Linked DNA regions of Homo sapiens: region 1 is linked to region 2. Evidence: promoter capture Hi-C in 16 types of primary human blood cells and fetal thymus (Javierre and others, 2016). All regions are on one chromosome and are shown on one strand. The core of a region is centred on a gene start or on the middle of the fragment in contact, and the rest is flanking DNA. Distances in the headings are between cores, read along the strand shown.

Region 1 (3,983 bases), core at 1,470-3,969, 55 kb after region 2:
TTTGTCTCTCACAAATGGCAAAAATGTTAATAGTAACTTTTCATGTTGTTTAGAAACAAATTCGGCTTAAAATATATGACAGCAATAAAAATTAAAAGTACTCAATATACCATCACTTTTGCATTCTCTCCTAGCACTCCAGTAAATAAACTATAGTCCTGGTCAAGTCTGAAATTCTGACTTGTAAGAGCTTTGATGACTAGCTAAAAATAAAAATTGTCAAACATATTTATAAGGAATGGTAATACTAAAAACTCCAACACGGTTAAGTTACATTAACAAAGGCTAAGAGGCTCAGCAAACTTTGGTAGTGCAGCTGCAGAGTTTTGAATCCTGACTCCAAAGTCCTTTGTCTGATAAGCATGATGATATTACGTTAAAGACGATATTATATTTATTGTGTACCTACTATGTGCCAGGTAGAACTATAGGAAATATCCATCCCTAACCCTCATTTCACTGATAAAGAACCTGCTGCTCTAAGAGGTTAAGTAACTTGTACAAACAACAAGAAAGTGGCAGAGCTGGGGTTTCAACCCATGTCTGCCCATCTCTGATATCTGATCTCCCCTCGTTGGGCTAAAGATGAGGATTCTGTGTCTCAAGTGACACTAACAGGAGAATCACCCTTTAGAGTCCACCCTGGAGGAGGTACTAGCTCAGATTATGGAGGACTTGGGAGGAATCTGTTTCTAATACATCCCTTAAAGTTGAACCTAACTCCAGATTATGTCGCGATCACAAAAGGAAAATTGGTCCATTCTTGGTGGACCTGAATATTAGGAATTAGTTCTTTGAGCCTCTGAGTATGCTTAGCACAGCCATTTTATTATGAAATCCTTATTTCTAGATTAATCTGAAATAGATCTGATCATCCTGGCAAACTAGAGAAGACCCCATCTATGTAGGTCTGTTTTGAATCAGAATGAAGCTATCTCCCAAGGCAAGGTTCAAAATAAGAGATGTTAAGGAGATGGGGCAATTAGGTAATTTTCCACTCATATGATTGAAATCCATCCCATGTTAGCCTATGTGACAGGGACTGTGACACTCATGCTGCTCCAGGAAACATGATCTTGGTTCTACAGTAAGACTAGGAAGAACTAAAAAAGTTTGGATACCTGGGGTATTATCAGTGGTCAAATGTACTTGGCCATTTGAAGAATACCTTTTAAATATACATAAATATCTTCCAACATGGGATGAATATTTTCTATAACTTTTCTCTATCTAATTATAGTTGCATCTTCCAATTCTGAGTTTATAATGAGAAAGAAACTATGTTGGAAACAACTACAAATGATAAAAATAAATAAAATAAAATATGGCCAGCTGGCAGACTGTTCTACAACATCATTGAGGCTCCGTGCATCACTTGAATAAAGCTTGATAGTTTATAAGCATTTCCTTGTTTTGATCATCACAGACAACCCTGAAGATGTAGGTATAACAGGAATCATAAGTATCTCCACACGGAGAGAATGAGTGACTTACCCAACACCACAGTGCTATAAGTGACAGTGATTCCAAATCCAATACTCTGTCCACTACATCACACTGCTTCATTAGCAGACATTTTGTGGGATAATAAAATGGGTTGTTTTTATTCCTCTATGTGAGGCCGCACTATAGAAGAAAACAATATAAAGACAAAAGAAAAACTCCTTTTTTGGAACAGTGTATCAGTCAGGGTCTAGTCAGGAAAAAGAAATCAAATACAGTCATGTGTCACTTAACAACCAAGTACAGTCACGTGTCACTTAACAACCAGTACAAGTACAGTCGTGTGTCTTCAAGTATAGTCATGTGTCACTTAACAACCAGACGTTCTGGAAAATGCATTTTTAGGTGGTTTCGTCTTTGTGCAAACATCATAGCATGTACTACACACCTAGTCTACGTAGTATAGCCTGTTTATTGCTCCTAGGCTACAAACTTATATAGTATGCTACTGTACCAAATACTGTATGCAACTGTAACACAATGGTAAGTATTTGTGTGTTTAAACATATCTAAACATAGAAAAAGTACAGTAAAAACATGGTATAAAAGATAAAAAATGGTGGCTGGGCCCAGTGGCTCATGCCTGTAATCCCAGCACTTTGGGGCCGAGGCAAGTGGATCACCTGAGGTCAGGAGTTCGAGACCAGCCTGGCCAATACAGTGAAACCCCGTCTCTACTAAAAATACAAAAATTAGCCGGGCATGGTGGCAGGTGCCTGTAGTACCAGCTACTTGGGAGGCTGAGGCAGGAGAATCGCTTGAACCCGGGAGGTGGAGGTTGCAGTGAGCCAAAATCATGCCACTGCATACCAGCCTGGGTGACAGAGCAAGATTCCGTCTCAAAAAATAACAAAAAATAAGTAAAATAAAAATGGTATACCTATATAGGGTACTTACCATGAAAGGCGCTTACAGGACTGGAAGTTGCTCTGAAGGAATCAATGAGAGAGTGATGAGTGAATGTGAAGGCCTAGGACATTACTGTACACTACTGTAGACTCTATAAACACTATACACCTAAGCTACACCAAAATTATATTTAAAAAATAAGGTAACTGTAGTACAACATTACAATAGTTATGATGTCACTAGGCAACAGAAATGTTTTAGCTCCATTATAATCTTATGTGGGCCGGGCATGGTGGCTCACACCTGTAATCCCAGCACTTTGGGAGGCCAAAGCGGGAGGATCACTTGAGGTCAGGAGTTCGAGACCAGCCTGACCAACATGGTGAAACCCCATCTCTACTAAAAATACAAAAAAAATTAGTCGGGTGTCGTGGCATATGCCTGTAGTCCCAGTTACTCGGGAGGCTGAGGCAGGAGAATTGCTTGCGCCCAGGAAGCGGAGGTTGCAGTGAGCCAAGATTGTGCCACTGCACTCCAGCCTGAGCAACAGAGTGAGACTCCGTCTCAAATAATAATAAAAATCATCATTATCATCATCATCATCAACTTATGGGACAACCATCCTATATATGATCCATCATTCACTATAATGTTGTTATGTGGTGCATGACTGTATTTACAACAGAAGGAATTTAATAGAGGGAACTGGCTATATAAGGCATTAAATTGCTGCAAACCATATTGGGGATGGTAAAAGGTTTAACAACAGCAGGGAGCCACTACCACCCCTAAGCCGGAGAGACAAAAGGAAGAGATGACAACAGCAGGGAGCCACTACCACCCCTTAGCTGGACAGACAAAAGGAGGAGATGGTGTTATAGGAACTGAAGACATAGAGTCACTGGACAAGAACCATGGTGGTCCTGTCCAGTGAGAACTAAAGCCAGAGAGAAACAGTCTCTGCTAGAGAAGCCACCCAAGGCAAGAAGGGAAAAAGAGAAATATCTTGGTTTCTCCCTTTCTCCTCTTGCATTATTTCCTGCCAGTTTCTCTAATCAGCTGAACCCAGTCTGAAGCTAGCTGACCCAGAAGCCTGGGTGGAGAAACAGGGAAGAATGAATATTAGAGAAAACTGACCAAGGGCTACAGTTAATCCTCAGCTGCAATAATCAAATATGTGACTGTTACAAGCAACTGAGATTTTGGGGTTGTATAACTGCAAAAGCTGACTGATACATGCCTCCACAAACATCAAGTAGGTAAATAAATAAGCAGACAGAAGTGAAATAAATGGAGAATCAAAAGTGAAATCATAGCAATAATTACTTTTAATAATTGCTTTGAAGACATTTCCACTATTAATTCGTGAGCCCAGGGTGGAAGGCAAGCACATGTACAGACCCCCAACCATGCTCTGGTCCTGAAGGAGAAGTCCATTCAGGAACCTGTCTAGCTATGTGGTGGGATCCCCAGCTAGCGGTGGAGATGAGCCCTGGCCAGGACTGTCTTATAGCTTCACAATTAACTGGGCAGTTCGGGACAGGATGACCTGGTGAACTGGGAGTGTCATATGCTGGCAAGTGAGGAGCCAGGACTTCCAAAAAGGAAGTTTGTCACTGAGTCAGCGATGT
Region 2 (4,127 bases), core at 1,089-3,588:
ACCTGTAATCCCAGCTACTCGGGAGGCTGAGGCAGGAGAATCGCTTGAACCCAGGAGGCAGAGGTTGCCGTGAGCTGAGATTGCACCATTGCACTCCAGCCTGGGCAACAGGAGCGAAAACTCTGTCTCAAAAAAAAAAAAAAAAAGAATTAACTTAGGTGGTGGCAAAGAGAACATATACATTCTAAGCTGGAATGATTTCTGTAGTTGTTTTAATGCTTCCCTAGCTTGTTTGTCTCCATGACACTTACCTACTATACCAGTGTATTTCTTGTTCATTCATTTATTGTCTGTCTCTTCCTACTATAATATAAGCTCCATGAAGCCAGAGACTCTGTCTTTTAATCACTGATGTATCCCCAGTACCTAGGATAGTGTCTGGGATTGATTCTCAAGAAATATTTTTTTGAATAAAGGAAGAAAGGAAGGAAATAAGAAATTTCCACAAGATAAAAGAACACTCAAGATTTTCAGGCTGGAAATGTACCAATCTCTTGGCTTAGTACTATGTAGGAGGGCATAGATACAATACTATATTCACGTTTCAAATGACCAAATCATAACTAAAATCTAACTGGGGAAAAAAAAGGTAAGGCAGGTATTTAACTTACTTTAAGAGTTTATAATATGCAAATCGGAACATTTCTTGGATATAGACAGAGACAAACGCTCCAAAGATCAGCAGATATTTCTGTGTTGGTCCATCTTTGTTGTCAATAATGACTCTTGCCATGAACCAAACAAGGGACGAAATCAGTAGAGACACCAACCAGAAGAAAGCTCTGAAAAATACGGGAAAAAAAGTTACAAGTGAACATCAGTACAGGATTAATAATGTTTAAAAGCAGGAAAAAAAAAAAAACCTGCTTGAGAAGGAAGAGATTTCTTGACGTTTCAATAAGGAAAAGAAAGTCCTCATAAAGTGATACTCTGATCAGTTGTTCTTAACGGTGCATTTTCCTTGGTGAGACAAACGTGTCCAAGAGGAAGGCTGAGGTTTCCCAACAATTACTTTTTTCAATGACCCTGCTACTTGCAAGTACATCTGCAGACTCTATCTGCCAAGGACTATCTAGCTAGAAACTTGGTTATTTGCTACTCTTTCTAATCAATGCTCTGCCCATTGATGAGCCAAAACAAGAAAATACACAACCCTGATTACTGCAATTTTCATATTCTTAAAACTTACAAGAAATTATGGATTTACTGATCAGATATCTGCAAAGATGAGTATCTTTTCCAGAAAAATATCTACATCTCTATTAATAAAGTGACTGGTATAAAATTCAACTTGAAAACCTGTGTTCTGATCTGGATCAGTATCCAAGCCCTCCAGGTCTTACAGCACCCCTGGGGATTCTAATGATTATAGCAAGCTTTACAGACCCTTCCCAAATCTCTATTATTTTTAAAATGACATGCAGCGAAGCACTTTCAATACGTTTGTGGGAGGTGAAGAAACGCAGAAAAGCGGGAATCATTGGCCTAGTCTGGTGCCAAGAGAGACTCATCAGAGGAGGGGGGATGTGGTATGTGCAAGTAAGAGGCAGGTGATGACTGCGATGGGACACCAGAGTCCGGTATTTACCAAGCTCCCAGAAGGAGACGCACAGTCAGGTGCTTCGGTGTTTTTACAGGTTTCCACCCTTCGGCTGCACAACGGAACCATCCAAAAGGAGCTTAAATTTTTTTTTTTTTTTCTGAAGCCCGAATCCCATCCCCTAGACATTCTGATTCAATGGATCGGGGTGGGGGTGGGCATCGGCATGTTTTAAAGCACCTGGCCACAGGTGATTCTAATAGGCGGAAGTCGCGCACTACTATCCTAAACGCCAATGGTTTTTAACCCTTTGGGGATTACACATGCCTTTGAGAATCTGAGGGAAATTAGGGACTCCCCCTCCAGAAAATGAAGGATGCATATATGAACTTATCCATAATTTTTTTATACAACTTTAGTAGCTTCACGGATCACTAAACCCCACCCATGAGCCCCAGGCAAAAGGCCCTGACCCCCAGTGTGCGCTTCTTCCTAAGAGGGCGAGGCGCCTTTGGGGAGCCGGATCTCCGCTCTCCCCCTCTCAACCCTCCTCCCGTCTGAAACGCAACAAGGTCGAGCCGCGCGGTGGGGGCGCCGAGGGTCGCGGGTAACCCCAGCGGGGGAGGGGAGCCCCGGCGTCCGGGTTTCCCGACGCGACCGCCTCACCCGGCGATGAGGAAGATGATACGCAACGGCTCGGTGGCGATGGTGAAGACATAAAGGGCGAGCGCAGGCCCGAAGGCAATGAAGGCGCAGCCGAAGAACACGGCCGCAGTCATGGCCACCGCGGAAACCGACCCGGGGGCCCGTTGGGGACGCGAGATGCTCCCGGCGCGGGCGGGGTTCGGTGGGTGGGGCTCGGGGTGGGGGGCTAAGCGGGACGCGGGGGGCGGGGCGCGGCTCATGGGCAGGCACGGGGACGGGGGCGGGGCTCGGGGGCGGGGCACGTGGGGGCGGGGGCGGGGCTCGGAGGCGGGGTACGTGGGTCGCGGGGCGAGGCGGGGCGTGGGGGTAAACGCTAGGGCCTGGGGGACTGGGCGGGGCGTGGGCTGAGGGCGCCGGGCGCAGGGGCGGGCTCAAGGCGGTGAGCGCGGACCCCACCGTTGGGCCCTCCGCCCTACCGGGTGTCCGGAAGCGCCAGGGCCACGCCGCAGCTCCTGCTCCCGAGGCGGGCGTCCTCGGCGACGTTAGGGCCCCAGCCATCGCCGCAGCCCCACAGATACACTCCGATCGGGTTCCAGTGCCGGCCGCGAGGTGGTTAAGAGAAGGGAAGCTCCCTAGCCCACCTTCGAGCCGCATGCACCGAGAACAGGCAGAGATTCCAAGTCAACCAAAGAGACTAAACAAAAATGTAGCGCAGGAACAAGCAGGATTCCTTTTTAAATAGGTTTTTTTTTTTTTTTAAGCACATTTTACCGTTTGGATAGTTGCGGGAACTTCGTACTCCATCCTGTATAAAACCTAGGCTGGGATAGCAGTGACCCCGGGGATAACCCACAGATGGTAAAATGATGAAAGAGTGGTGGAAGAAGCTGCCCTTCTCAGGGCTGTTTCAGCCAAATGGTTTTTATTTTTTTCCCAATTCTTCAAAAGGGTTGTTTTTGCAGGCATTCTGTGACCACCCTACAAGCAATAGTAACATCTCCCTGCTCCGTCTTCTCACAGTCGTCCATTTCACTTGCTTATTTTTCTTCCCCGTTAAAACGCGAACTCCTGGGGGACAGGGACTTTGCTTTGCTCTTTGTTGTTTCCTCAGCACCTAGAAGTTCACTAATATCTGTTCAATAAGTGAAATAATTTAAAAGGTGGAAGTTATAAACATCTATATTAACAATTTCTGAAAGGTTTAAAAATTAAAACTTAAGTTCTCTGATCATTCACATCCAAGTTAGATTTTTCTTTATGTTGAATAATACTTCGTCGGTTATTTTGATCAGTGTGCCTGACACAGGTAAGTGCTATGTAAGTATTAACCACTCCTACATAATGTCCATCATGAATAAAGATTTTGGCAATCCACATTTAAAAAAACACCAGTAGACAAATGTTGGGACCTGACAGATGTTTTGCAGCTCGCCCCTGAAAATGCACCTTCAAATAATACAACTGCAGGTATTTAATTCTTACAGAAAAACATTACCTTTGCCCATTTAAAAGTCATATATATTTCCATTCACTCCCACAGAATACTTCTTCAGATTCCAGTGATTGTATTTTGAATGGTCAGATCCCAGCACAATACCTATCAAAACTCGGGTCGAGACAACAGTTCAGAGTGATAGATCTGCTTTGTAAAGATATGGAAAATGAGCTTCCAGACTGGAGGTCCTCAGTGCAACGCAGGCATGAGATGGCAGTGGCCTGATTCAGGGAATTAGCAGGACTCTGGAGGGAAGCAGACAAATTTAATAGAAGTTTAGGAATTGTACAAACAGAATTTAGTGACTAATGAGCTACATAGAGTGAGATGGGGGAAGAGTCAAGGATGAGGGCTTCTAGAGGGTTCGGGCTTAAGTGGATGCTGTGGAGACAGGAGGAGGAGAGAATATGGCAAAGTAGACACGATAATGAGTACCATTTTGTTATT

Evidence for each region. The method cuts DNA at HindIII sites, captures the fragments that hold promoters and counts their contacts. A CHiCAGO score of 5 or more calls a contact.
Region 1: a contact is called between a fragment that was not itself captured here and the fragment with the promoter of APH1B in region 2, in 2 of 17 cell types (M2 macrophages and M1 macrophages). The highest score is 5.5, in M2 macrophages.

What each region holds. Positions count from the first base shown.
Region 1 is chr15:63,221,491-63,225,473 of GRCh38, reverse strand. The region is part of intron 1 of RAB8B (RAB8B, member RAS oncogene family); the gene reads right to left. Among named protein-coding and RNA genes, the nearest start is that of RAB8B, 34 kb to the right of the region's middle. The HindIII fragment of the contact is 2,664 bases long and covers 1,388-3,983 here.
Region 2 is chr15:63,275,816-63,279,942 of GRCh38, reverse strand. It overlaps APH1B (aph-1B gamma-secretase subunit), which reads right to left and starts at 2,338. Exons shown (of 6, transcript NM_031301.4): 1 at 2,207-2,338; 2 at 612-782. The coding sequence starts at 2,319. It overlaps LOC124903504 (a long non-coding RNA gene), which reads right to left. Exons shown (of 2, transcript XR_007064674.1): 2 at 3,091-3,925. RefSeq lists silencers at 2,032-2,311, 2,392-2,811. The HindIII fragment of the contact is 9,433 bases long and covers 1,379-4,127 here.